Linked DNA regions of Homo sapiens: regions 2 and 3 are each linked to region 1. Evidence: promoter capture Hi-C in human tissues and cell types (Jung and others, 2019). All regions are on one chromosome and are shown on one strand. The core of a region is centred on a gene start or on the middle of the fragment in contact, and the rest is flanking DNA. Distances in the headings are between cores, read along the strand shown. Region 1 holds the start of GAP43 (growth associated protein 43). Region 2 has its middle 110 kb from the start of GAP43. Region 3 has its middle 71 kb from the start of GAP43.

Region 1 (4,281 bases), core at 986-3,485:
AAACTGATGAGGAAGCTGATTCTGAGCTGGGTGGTTTCACATATTTAGTCACAAAGTTCATCAATGCTTGTGCCCAGTTTTAAGCCCTAGCTTGTTTAACTTCATTATGCCACTTTGTTTCCAAGGTTCCTTCCCATATATAAAGGGGGAAAAATATAAATGGGATGGCTGAGGTGAGTACATCGAAAGGGAAAGGAATTAGTCCCACTCTTTAAGTTTGGCCACATAGTTAATGAAATGGTCTTATCAATGGAGTTATCCTGTTTAAACACCAAAAGGTGCAATTTCTTCTCCATCATCCCCAATCCCCACATTCTCTGCCTCCTCCCTTCATTGCTCTTTAGCCACTAGCAGGCTAGGTAGGGTGTTCCTAATCTGCAACCGGAATGTTTCTGGTAGGAGCCATTTCTCACCCACTCTTTGTCCTCTTTTATCACTTAAAATCACGGAAGGCTGTTCTGAAAGCGGCTGGGCTCCTTGTAACATTAAAAAATTATTAAACTCAGAAACTAATTCTGTTTTTTAATCATAAATATGAAAACTAGGAAGCAAACTGAGAAGAATGAAAGACCAAATCAGCGGATCTGAAGCAGGCCACTCTCAGGAAGACTCCTGAGGAATAATTAAGGCTAATTTTAAATATCACCTCCTGGGTATCATCATCACCATCGTTCCCAGGTACCTGTCTGAGATAGTCCATTTTGAAATAGATATACCTTAAATTATGTTAAAATGTACTAAGCACTTATTGAGCTCAGTGATCCTGAAATATGCCTAACAATAAGCTGCCTAGTTGCCACTTATTAGCTAGGTTTATGTCTAGGAGGTCTAGGAGGGACTATGAAGAATATGAGCTGTTTAATTAGGGGTACTTGTCATCACTAATGAACAACAAGAAATAGTTTGAAAACTTCTTTGAGATATTCACTTGCAAATGTCACCCGAATTTCAGAAAAGTACAGTCTCTGGAGTAAAGCTATTATACACTCAGAGAGACTGTTGTGCTTTGCATGCGTTATATCATTTAGTCCTCAAAACATGTTGTCAAGATTGGCATTATTATCTCCATTTTAAAGATGAGAAAATTAGGTGCAAAGAGCTTCAGTAACACACTCAAACTCATTCAACAATAAATAACTAAAAATTGTGCTATACACACTTTAAGAGTCACATGTTCCTCCCCCAAAATTATGAAAGGCCATAGAAGGAATTCAAGAAGTAGGCTTCATGACTTATCGTTTCTTCTCATCTCAGATGAATTCACTTTAATCTCTCATGCCCAAATTGTAAAATATCATTTTGATCACCGTCAATATTACACAGACCTGTTTGAATGTGCTCAGCTTTTTCAGTAAAATTAGAAGAAACCACAATTTACAAACAGGTATATGTGCATTAAGGAAAAAACAAAAAACTACCATGTGATTTTAGATATGGATGCCAATTCTTAAACATTGTTTATTATTTCTGAGCTCAAGTGCTTAGAATGTTTAAAATGCAATATATTTATGTGGATTTTTTTCCAGGATATTGGAACATATATAAAATATGCTTGTGCATATCTAAGCTTTGTATTTATTTCAGGTTATATGTATACTGAGAAGAATATATAAACAGTGTATGATATTTACATGTTATTTCATTTTTTGAGGGAAATTAACCTCCACAATTATTAACTATGCATAAAATGTAATGGCAGATATGACTTATATTGTATAGGACTGACTACAATTCCTCTTTAGAAATAGCTGTTCTTTGCTTTTATAATACTAGGAAAAGAGGAAAAGAGTTCTTAAAGAAATACAAGGATTCCTCAAGCCCCTCTTCCCTAAAACATGCTCTATCATATCTCCTGGATTGACTGGAATATCCTTCTCTGCCCCCACCCCATCACCCTCTCAATGCAGTGGAAAAGTCGGTGGGTAATTGGGTCCAGATTGGAGGTGTTTAAATATTCATGAGGCTGGCAGGGGACTGGGAGGGGGCGACTGTCTAGAATGGGGGTAGGGGCTGGGGGAAGTGATTAGTCACTGAAGGCTAGAGAACAATTCCGAGAAAGAGACGGAGAGAGAGGGAAGAAAAAGACAGATAGATAGATATTGGGGGGAAGGAGAAAAAAGGAGAAGAGAGGGAAGAGAGGACAGCGGAGAGAGAGCACCAGAGAGAGAGGGAGAGAGAGAGAGAGCGCTAGAGAGAGGGAGCGAGCATGTGCGATGAGCAATAGCTGTGGACCTTACAGTTGCTGCTAACTGCCCTGGTGTGTGTGAGGGAGAGAGAGGGAGGGAGGGAGAGAGAGCGCGCTAGCGCGAGAGAGCGAGTGAGCAAGCGAGCAGAAAAGAGGTGGAGAGGGGGGGAATAAGAAAGAGAGAGAAGGAAAGGAGAGAAGGCAGGAAGAAGGCAAGGGACGAGACAACCATGCTGTGCTGTATGAGAAGAACCAAACAGGTAGAGCTAAAGATTTTTTACTTCTTGCTGTTGTGAAATAACCCGAGTACAGTATTTCCCCGTAAAGGCAAACAATTTTTTTACTGCTTCTGCTCTGGCCGTGGTGCTCGCGCTTCCTTAGCATATGGTAACTGATGGTTGCATCCCAGCTTTTATTCTTTTCTGTCTTTCATGCTCTGGTTTTGGAATGCTGCTACTAATTAGGGTGAGGGTAGAAAAAACATGCCTGTTTGGCTAGAAATAATTTTTTTTTTTCTTATTAGTGAATGCTCAGCATTTGAGGTCTCTGGTCTTGAGGGTGTGGACGTAGAAAGGGGTGTGGGGGAGATGATGTGGGCTCTACCTACAAGATGGGGAGGCATTTCTTTATATTATTTGCAAAAAAGCAGGGTTGAGGAAATAATATTCAGAACTGAGTATTGCCTCTCTGTCATACAATTTTCTCACATGTGCTGCGGAAGATGCCTTATTTCGTGCATGCATGAGCTTCGAAGGGGCGCAGGTATTTATGGAAAAACGTGCAGGTCTTATTTATTTAGTATTTATTTTTCAATGAATGAATGAAACTGTGATTTGATAGATTTTTTTTTTTTTTAAGAGAAGCTAAGACAACTGGGGCTGGGGGAGAAATTGGCCATGCAGAAGGAGAAAATCCCCTTCCTAAGATCAGCAGCCGATTGTGCACCAGCTGGTCGGAGGAGAGGGTGGACCACGCCCCTAGGAGCTCCGATGGGATGGGAAAGACAGCCGGGTATTACCTGTTGGAAACCAGGTCTTTTCTCTTATCCCCTTCCCTTGCTTCTTTCCTGGGATTGTCAGTGACCAGAGACAGGCTAACATCCTGGATAATAAGTATGGTGACTCATTTTCATCAGGAAGAGGGACACATCCAAGATTAGCAAGAATCAGAGCCCCTCCTTCCCTCCCCCACTGCCCAGGTTTTACAGCCATTTCCAATTGCTCGCTTATTTCTTGAAAGACATTTTAGAAACTTGATTGGGGTGAGAGTGGGAAGGAATGACGAGTGTGGTATTCCGCAGCAACCGACCATGCCATGGCAGTCTCCAAAAGAAGCTTTCAAACATTTGTTGGAATGCATTTGAGTGATTTTGGCAAAGGTTAAAGAGAAAAATGGGTGTGGGATACGGGTGAGTGTGTGCGTATGCTTGACTGTGGTGGGGGTGGGGGTGTGGTGGGGGCAATCTTGGTCAAAGAAGCCCTTCGCAGACTGATTGCCTTAGGGGTGGGGTGCAAGAGATGGAATTTGGGTATAATTTCCAGTGCAGGTATTGGAAATTGGGCAATTTGTAATACACTCCCTGAATCCGAAGGGGGTGGAAGAGAGTGGAGAAGAAACAGCCTGCCAGCTTAGCACATTTAGCCAGCGCCCTGGAAGGAAGGGTGGGGAGTGAGGATGAAGGAGAAGGAGCAGGAAGAGGATGGGAGACTGAAGCAGAATGTCAGAGCAGTGGGAGTAGAGATTTGGCATAAATAAATAAATAAATAAATAAGCAGACATCCTGGATTGTGTGGGGCTATTTGGGGGAAAAAGTCGGATAGTGGGGGATTGAGTTGGGGGCGGTATTTGCAGCATCTCCTGAAACTGCCCTATGGTTACAGAGATTGATGCTTCCATTGGCTCATTTTATCAAACCAGGGCATTTTCTCTCTGTGTCCTCCTTCATTTTAATATATAAATGTAATAAATACAGGTGTCTGGGTTAAGAACACTGTCAAAGAAAAGTCCTGAGGTTATTTCACTGGTGAGCTGGGGAAATAACATTTAGGAAGGTGGAGCACTAAGTAAGCCAAAGCCATCCACTTAAAAAGCTTTAA
Region 2 (4,281 bases), core at 841-3,340, 110 kb before region 1:
GTTTTGCTGCATGCAGTCCAGGGCGTGGCAGCTGCTTCGTTGCAACTAAACACTGGAAACTGGCTCCCCCAAATAATCTCCACATTAAGCTGAGATCTGTTGAGTACATGAAAAATTGAGAGGAGGAAGACCCTGACCCTGGGGTGTCTTGGACTACTTCTCCTCTGAATGTTCCTAGGCTAAAACCAAACATTTTTAATAGATAATCTGTTCCCTTAGCCCCTTCTGTTTCTACCTCGTCGCGTGCCCTCTCTGCCTAAACGCTCTCTCCTCCTCCCCAGGTTCATATTAATAAGGAGAAGGTCTCCCCGCAGCTCCTCTGGACCGAGCCACACCTCTGCCTGGGAATCCTGGGCTGGGGCTGCAGAAGCCCGCTGCGCGCCTCCTGGTTTCTATGGAGACCCTGCTTGATGTCAATGGCGGCTCCGGAGCGCAGGGAAACCTAAGCGTTTGTATTTAAATGAGGGAAAGTGGGGGAAGGGGAAGTAAAAGAGGAAGGGAACAGAAGAGAGGATGGTAGAGGTGAGCGGGCGGGTGTTGAACTCTGGGGACTAGAAAAATCCAGCTGCGTTACTCAGTCATCTCATGCTCGCGGAGAAATCAGAGGAAGCAGCAGCGGGCAGAGGGGTGTTTATTTCTTGCGTGAGAAATATCCGACTTCTTTCTGACATCCGGGAGTAAGGGACAGGCAACTAGGAATCCCTTTTCATGTGGCTGGCCCCTGGCTGATAGTGCTGCTCGATTTCATTTCCAAGAAGAAAGGGAGAGTTCTCTCTTTGCCCAGAGACTCAAGTCTTAAAGATTCATTGCTGCTATGGGAGGGGCCACGCCTCTATCTTTCACTCTCGACCCTTTCCCCTGCAGCATAACTAAATAGAAGCTCTGGAAAGACGGATTCGAAAAGTTCTGGGGTCTGGATTAACTGCTGTTTATTGGCTGACACCCTAGCAAGAGGCTGGGGGAGGAGTAGGAGGAGGTTGGGCAGAATGTATGCTATGATTGAATTGCACGAGGGTTCAGATGACGTCAGCTTGAATAAAGGTCTGACCTAGTGAATGTTAAATGTGGCTGAGTGACTGAATCCTTGGAAGGGATCGATGGCAGAAACCTCCATGAAAGGACCATGCCACTTCTTTAAAATATTAAGCATGTGATTCTGCTGATCTCCCCTGCAACTCCCAGAGCGCTGGTGGAATCTTAGCTTTCTGCTATAATCACTTGAACATTACTTACTGCCCTAGATAACTGCGGGTCACGTGGAGTTTGCACCAAAAAAGGAAGTCTTTGAAAAAAAGAAAAAGCCATTAATCAAAGTGCCTGCTAATCTTACAAAGTGAAAGCAATTCAATTTAATAAACACTTTCAGAGGACTACTTCGAGCCAAGTGTATGCAAAATGAGTGAGATGTTCTTTGCCTTCAAGGTGCATACATTCTGGCTGGGGAGGCGGATATGTTCACAAATGACTCATGGTGCCTGGCAGCAGGTAATATATACCATGGGAACTCCAAGGAAGGTGAAATTAATTAGATACAAGGAGGAGGGGAAAGCAGTTTATATTAGTTGCCTCTGAGGTCTAGACTTTTATAATAGATGCAGAGGAGAGAAGCGCAGGGAAAAGTTCTGCAGGGGTAGAATAGAAAAAGTTTAACCCAAATGCCTATTCCATATAAAATTCCAGTTCTGTAAAATTGTCAAGTGACAGAGCAAGCTAATTTTCCTATTTTTTCCCTCTCTGATGACGTATTGCTATTGCTGCAACTTATAGGAAACTCTGGCTTGGCTTCTATTCCATTTTTACCACTTGCCTAACCCATTTTATTTTGATATTAGAGGTTCAAGCTTTAATGGTTTCATTTAAAAATAAACCCAGAAGGTAGAATTGTGAGAAAGAACGCTTTAAAATGTATTTGGGTTTAGGCTGAGTGAGAACCATAGGCATATGAAGGGCATTGAGATTATTTTGTAGTTGAGACAGGGCTGAAATAAAGAAGGTATTTGTGCCATTTGGGGCTCATTTTCAGAGTCATGGCACATAGGAATTAAGAGATGATTGGCAGCTCCATCACAAATGTTGGAGAAATTTTTGAAATATGTAACACTTATGGTCTGAACTTAGTGCGTGTTGCTCGGTCATGAACTATCAAGTTTTCATTAGAAAATTAGGAGATATTCAGGAATACATTAAAGGACACAGAAGCCAAAGGCTAAGTCTTGGCCTTTGGATGGAAGATATCAGGCAGAAATGAAATTAAAGGAGGGCAATTATTTCTAGAAAGGACAGGAAAAAGAAGCCACATGTGCTCAAACTAGTCATAGTTTCTGTGTCATTGAGATATTAGTTACGAAGGGCTTGTTTTCAAGGCCCTACTCTCAGTTGGCTGAGGAATATAGGTATAATAAAAAACATCTTCCCAGAGTTTTGGCAATGAAGCAGAATATTAGCAATTTTTAATGAAAAAGGGCAGAAAGCCAAGAGTCAAATTATTTTATTTTTATTGTTTCATTCTTCTCACATGGTTCACTGCAGAATCTTTGGACTCCTAATTTACTTTCTTTAATGCCATTCTGCCAAGTTTCTGGATAACTGAATATAATCCTCTAGCTTCTTTACTTCAAATAAACACCCATAGACATGTGGACACCTCAGTCATCTGAACACAGTCAAATGTATTTGCATGGTACATTTTTGTAATGATAGTCAATATGGCATGGCAATTCCTAGAAATGAGTTTAGTAATTTGAGGAGTGACCACTTGACATCACTAATAGCTTAAAGAAGAGACAGAAGGGATAAAATAAACACATAAAAAAGAAATTGAGTCATAAATAGTAGAAAAGATGGAGGGGGAAAAACAAGTAGTGAAACAAGACATTAAGGGGAAAAAAAGATATAGAACAGGACGTCTTAAGCCCTTGAAGAGGTTAGGATCCTTGTATTAGTCCATTCTCACACAGCTGTAAAGAAATACCTGAGACTGGGTAATTTATAAGGAAAAGAAGTTTAATTGGTTCATGGTTCCACAGGCTGTACAGGAGGTATAGCAGCTTCTGTTTCTGGATAGGCCTCAGGAAGCTTACAATCATGACTTAAGGCAAAGGGAGAGTGAGGCACTTCACCCAACCAGAGCAGAAGGAAGCAAGAGAGGTGGGGCAGGTGCCACACATTTTTAAACAACCAGATCTCAGGAGAACTCTCTCACTATGGCAACACGTACCAAGGCAGAAATCTGCTCCCATGAGCCAATTATCTCCCACCAGGCTCTACCTCTGACATTGGGGATTACAGCTCCACATTTGTAATTTCCTAGAGACTTGTTGATAGTTGTGACCCAAATGCTGATAGTGATATGGACAATGAAGTACAGGCTGAGGAGGTCTCATATGGAAATGAGGAACTTATTGGGAACTGGAGTAGAGATCACTTTTGCTATGCTTTAGCAAAGAGCCTGGCTGCATTGTGCCCCTACTCTAGGGATCTGTGAAACTTTGCCCTTGAGAGTGATGATTTAGGGTATGTGGCAGAAGAAATTCTAAGCAGCAGAGTGTTCAAGATATGACATGGCTAATAGCCTATGCTCATATGTGTGAGCTAAGAAATGATCTAAAGTTGGAACTTAGGGTGAGATTTGGGTGGGGACACAGATCTGAATTATATCATTCTGCCCCAGGCCCCTCCCAAATCTCATGTCCTTCTCACAGTGCAAAATCCAATCATGCCTTCCCAACAGTCTCCCAAAATCTTAACTCTTTCCAGTGTTAAGTCAAAAGTCCACAGCTCAGAGTCTCATCTGAGACAAGGCTAGGCACTTCCGCCTATGAGCATGTAAAATCAAAAACAAGTTAGTTACTCCTAAGATAAAATGTGGTTGTAGGCATTGGGTGAATACTCCCACTCCAAAAGGGAGCCAGAAGAAGGGGACTACAGGCCCCATGCAAGTCTGAAACCCAGCAGGGCAGTCATTAAACTTTAAAGCTCCAAAATAATGTTCCTTGACTCCATATCCCAAATCCAGCACACACTGGTATAAGGGGTGGGCTCCCAAGGCCTTGGACAGCTCCACCCCTGTGGCTTTACAGGGATCAGCCCCTGCAGTTGCTCTCATGGGCTGTTGTTGAGTGCGTGCAGCTTTTCTAAGCTCAGGGTGCAAGCTGCTGGTGGATTTACCATTCTGGGTCTGGGGTCTTACAGTTCCAGTAGTGGGGACTCTGTGTGGGGGCTCCAACTCCCACATTTTCCCTCTGTATTGACCTAGCAGAGGTTCTCTGTGAGGACTCTGCC
Region 3 (4,281 bases), core at 633-3,132, 72 kb before region 1:
GCCTGTAAGTAGAATAGCTGAGTAAGGAATACAAATTTTAGATTAATGTATGTTCCTTTCTTACATATATATAATATATAGTATTGTATACACATTATATATATAAAGAGAGAGAAAAAATTTTTTTTCAGTTACAAAAGACAGAAAACCAATTAAAACTGAGGGGATGAGGTAGGAGAAAGTTTTTGGTCCATATAACTCAAATGCCCAAGGATAAGGCCTGACTTTAGGTACGGTTTGACCCAAGGGTTTAAACAATGTTAATACCAATAATAGCGAACATTTCTTGAACAGTTTCTACATGTCAGGGACTGTTACATACTTTATATAACTAACTCATTTAACTTTCACAACATTCTATGAAGAAAATACAACTATGATTCCCATTTTACAGCTTTCTCTTGATTTCCTGTTTCTGCTCTCCTCTTTATGGCCTCATTCCCAGGCAGGTTCTCTCTCTAGCTGCTCCAGATTCATTCCCTCAGACCAAAGTCCACAAAATGACTCTTGCCTCTTTTCCAGTTGCTCAGGCAAAAGTTCCACTATTAACTCTGGTCCTGCCTCCTGGATTGGCCTTGACCCCATTCTTGGCCCCATTGCTAGGGGAACATTAGACCCGGATATGTCATTCCTGAGCTAAACTGCTACCCACCCCTGGAGCTGGGAATGGAGTTAGCTGCCTCAAAGTACATGACCTCAGAGTAAAGGATGGAATAATTTCCCCAAAGATAAACCAAGTACTGTTTTCAAAAGCAGAGTAAATGGAAAGCAGATGGCCACTTCCACTACAGCAACAAATTCCACTACAATGAGGACTCAGAAATTTTTGGTTGCATTTAGAGAAGAGAACAGTGCATCAAGCTACTTGGACGAAAAATATCTTTCTGGTTCAAGTTTCTGAGGATGAGCAATTATTACATTTTCAGATTCACAATGCAGAGGAATAGTTTTAAATAGTCTGAAAGAACTATTTAGATGCCAGCCACACCTTAAATAAATGTGCTCATTCTACATGCAAGTCTAAATATACATGTAAATGAAGAAATTTGAAGAAACCCTAGTGGATTCACTCTTTCCAGCTTAAAGCACACTCCATTATTTTCCTAAACATATGGATGTGGTCCAAGAAAATATCTAGATAGAAGTCATTTTTCCCAACAATATGACAAAATATATGATTTCTTTGCTGCTTCGTCAGTGATTGGAGTGTGATATAGACTGTAACTTTCTACAGTTAGAAAATCAGCCATGAGAACAGTGGCTTCAGTGTCTGATTACATTCACCAAGTATGTCTGTTTATTAATCTTGATGTTGTTTGCTATGTAATGGAGGTAATGCAGATAGGGAAAAAAAAATGTCTGAGCTGTGCATGGATTGCTATGGAAACAGCAGCTGACCAATCAATGGAGAGTAGTCAGAACATATGCCTCCTCTCCTCTGCAGTCCTGATGAATTGATGTCCTGCTATTGCAATCCTTTTGGCTCTGTTGTCACTTGTAGCAATAGTTTTTTGACATCTAAATATATGACGCACACCTGTTATTTAAAAATCAGAGGTATAAATGATTAGTCTTAAAATATTCAATCTCTCTGTACAAACACGCTCACAGTCAGTTATTTCTCCCTCCAAAGTATTTTCTAAATTTCTTGTGCATCCATCCCTCCTAATCCTTTTACTTGCCATTTCCTCACACCATCCTGCTCACTTGCCTTCCCTCCCTTTTGCTATCCCAAACCTCCTTAGTCTATTAGCAGGTAGCATTTTCTTCAACATGGAGAAATATAAATCAACATGAGTCAATTTAAAACTTTGTCCAATTTTAGAGTTAATTTTTTTTAAAGTAGTTGAAAAACATATTCAGAACTACAAGAGGGTTCAACCACCAGACACATGAGAAAGACCATTTCACATTTCTCTGTTAAGTCCAGGAAATATAAACAGATCTGTTTCTCAGGAAAGCTCAAGAAAAATGTGAAGAAAGAAAATAGAGCCATTAGAAGCATAGTCTAAGTTTAAAAATGAATAAATTACATTTGACAATAATCTGCCAATTGTGAGACTAGTCACATTGATTAGAAAAGGTTGTTGTAGATTTCTCTGGGGTAGTGAACCCTTGATCTACATAAAACTTGTGTCTCTTTTGGCCTTAAATAATTGGGAGAGTGGAGAGAGGGGGAGATAATGTTATCTACAATAGCTTCAGTGAGCACGAAGGGGTGTGTGTCATGATGATAAAGACAAAATAGGGCCCTCTGGTCTTTGCTATTGTCGTTGCATAAAAAGATTTAAAGGACTGACTTGCATTGAGCAGATTGAACAATAAATAATGGCTGCTGACATTTAAACCTATCTCCAGATCACACAGTAAATCTGTGGGGATGATTGCGCACAAGTCCTAGAATCATTTAATATTCAGCTGATTCACTGGTAGAACAATGGGCTGATTTGATGATATAGTGATGTTCTTATTATCTGGGCTCACTGAAGAAATAAGCTTTCTTAAAAACAATTCTTTTTGTGTATACACTGAGGCTTTAAAGAAAAGGCCAATATTCATCTCCATGCCTTTTTCGGGAATTATTCTGGGAGCTTGGTATCATCAGTAAAGAATGAAAGATTTCCTGACTTCATGGAGTGTACATTCTAGCAGAGGAAGCAAGCAATAGAAATAAATGGATTAAACAAATTCATTTGATAGTATGCTGGAAAGTAAATGTTCTTGTTAAGGTGGCCAGTAGCATCTTAATTACTAACACCTTACCTTTATTGGTTTCCTCCTAGCATTTGGTATTGTTGAATCTATTCTTATTTTATCTTTCATCTCATAGATGGGCAAATGTTTTGGGAGTACTTACTAAACTCCAGGCATTATGCTAGGTGCTGGAGATCCAGCAGAGCATGTGGCATGTTGTAGCCACCCCCTTATCGTCTATCGGTCCTCTCTCTTTTCTCAAGCCACTGATGGCCTCCTCTCCCTCTTTAGCAAGCCCCTTCTTTTCTGTCTGCTCCATAATTATTAGGATTTTCCTTCTATATTTTGTCCACACTCCTCTTAGATCCACATGCTTTATTTGTGATCTCACTGACTTTCTGAGCCTCTAACTGCCATTAATGCACTGATGACTCTATCGCTCCATCATATCACAATAATCCATTCATTCATTATTTCTTTTATAAATATATATGAGCATTTACTCTTTTCTAACCACTACCCTAGGGAATTCAAGAATACATAAAAAGGACATGATCTTTGCCCTCATGGAGATTACAGTCTGGTGGAGGAGACAGACAAAAAACAACCGAACAAGAAAATGAATGAAAACAATTATACATTTTAACAATTTTCATGCATGAAACAAACAAGGGGAGAAGAATAAGAATATACAAAATCTACTATCAGATAGGATGGTCAGGACGGACTCTGTGGAAGGAACATTTGGGCATAAATTAAATGATAAACATAAAACAGCTTTGTGAGAGTCTTTAGAGTTAAGACCATTCTAAGTGAAGGGGATAGCATAAACTTATGCTAAGGTAGTGAGGTGGGAAAATGTTGCTGACCTTTGTGACTGGATGAAAATGAACTTGGGAGAGAGTACTGTGAGATTAGTTTGGAGAAAAACAATAGTGAGATGATGCAGGATCTTGAAGTCCTGAAAAATAATTTGGATTCCCTTCTAGATAGATTTGACAGGAAATGAATTATTCTAAGCAAAGGATTGATGCAATGTAATTCACTTGTTTATTATTACTCTTGCTACTAAGAGGAAAGTGGAATTAGTGATCCCTTAAGAGGCTGTTGGAATTCAAATGAGGGAAGTGTAACCGAACTAGCTGATGGCAGCAGATGTGAATGGAAGCCAGTGGATTTGGTATAAATGTTTCAGTATAAGCAGTAGGACTCGATGTTGTTGGATGGTGTGTGGTAGTTGGGAAAAATGGAGGAATCAGAAATGATTCATAAGTATCTTGCTTGAGAAAATGGGTGGGTGTTGGTGTCATTTCAGGGTTGGAAGGTAATCCACTTCATGAATTATTGCCACAGTTCTGTATTTTTCTGCTGGCCACCAGGCTCTTATCTCTCCAGTCCATCTTTTACCATGCAGAAAGAGAGATTTGGCTCACAGACATAATTTGATTCTTTCTGGCTCCTGTTCAAAAGTCTCTTTTGATTACCAAGTGCTTATAGTTTTAAATATACAAACATGTTGGATTGGGATTCAACCTATTTTCTGGCCTCACTCTGCTGCTGCCCTCCATACACTGGGTTGTTCCTTTC

Evidence for each region. Contacts are between HindIII fragments. The study calls those that stand out against the background at their distance.
Region 2: a fragment that was not itself captured here is called in contact with the fragment with the promoter of GAP43 in region 1 in 3 of the 25 tissues and cell types used here (dorsolateral prefrontal cortex, heart left ventricle and thymus).
Region 3: a contact is called between a fragment that was not itself captured here and the fragment with the promoter of GAP43 in region 1, in 3 of the 25 tissues and cell types used here (heart left ventricle, hippocampus and spleen).

What each region holds. Positions count from the first base shown.
Region 1 is chr3:115,621,275-115,625,555 of GRCh38, forward strand. GAP43 (growth associated protein 43) reads left to right here and starts at 2,236. Exons shown (of 3, transcript NM_002045.4): 1 at 2,236-2,445. The coding sequence starts at 2,416. The HindIII fragment of the contact is 4,830 bases long and covers 1-3,897 here.
Region 2 is chr3:115,512,282-115,516,562 of GRCh38, forward strand. No RefSeq gene overlaps it. Among named protein-coding and RNA genes, the nearest start is that of GAP43, 110 kb to the right of the region's middle. The HindIII fragment of the contact is 4,102 bases long and covers 40-4,141 here.
Region 3 is chr3:115,549,916-115,554,196 of GRCh38, forward strand. No RefSeq gene overlaps it. Among named protein-coding and RNA genes, the nearest start is that of GAP43, 71 kb to the right of the region's middle. The HindIII fragment of the contact is 6,816 bases long and covers 1-4,281 here.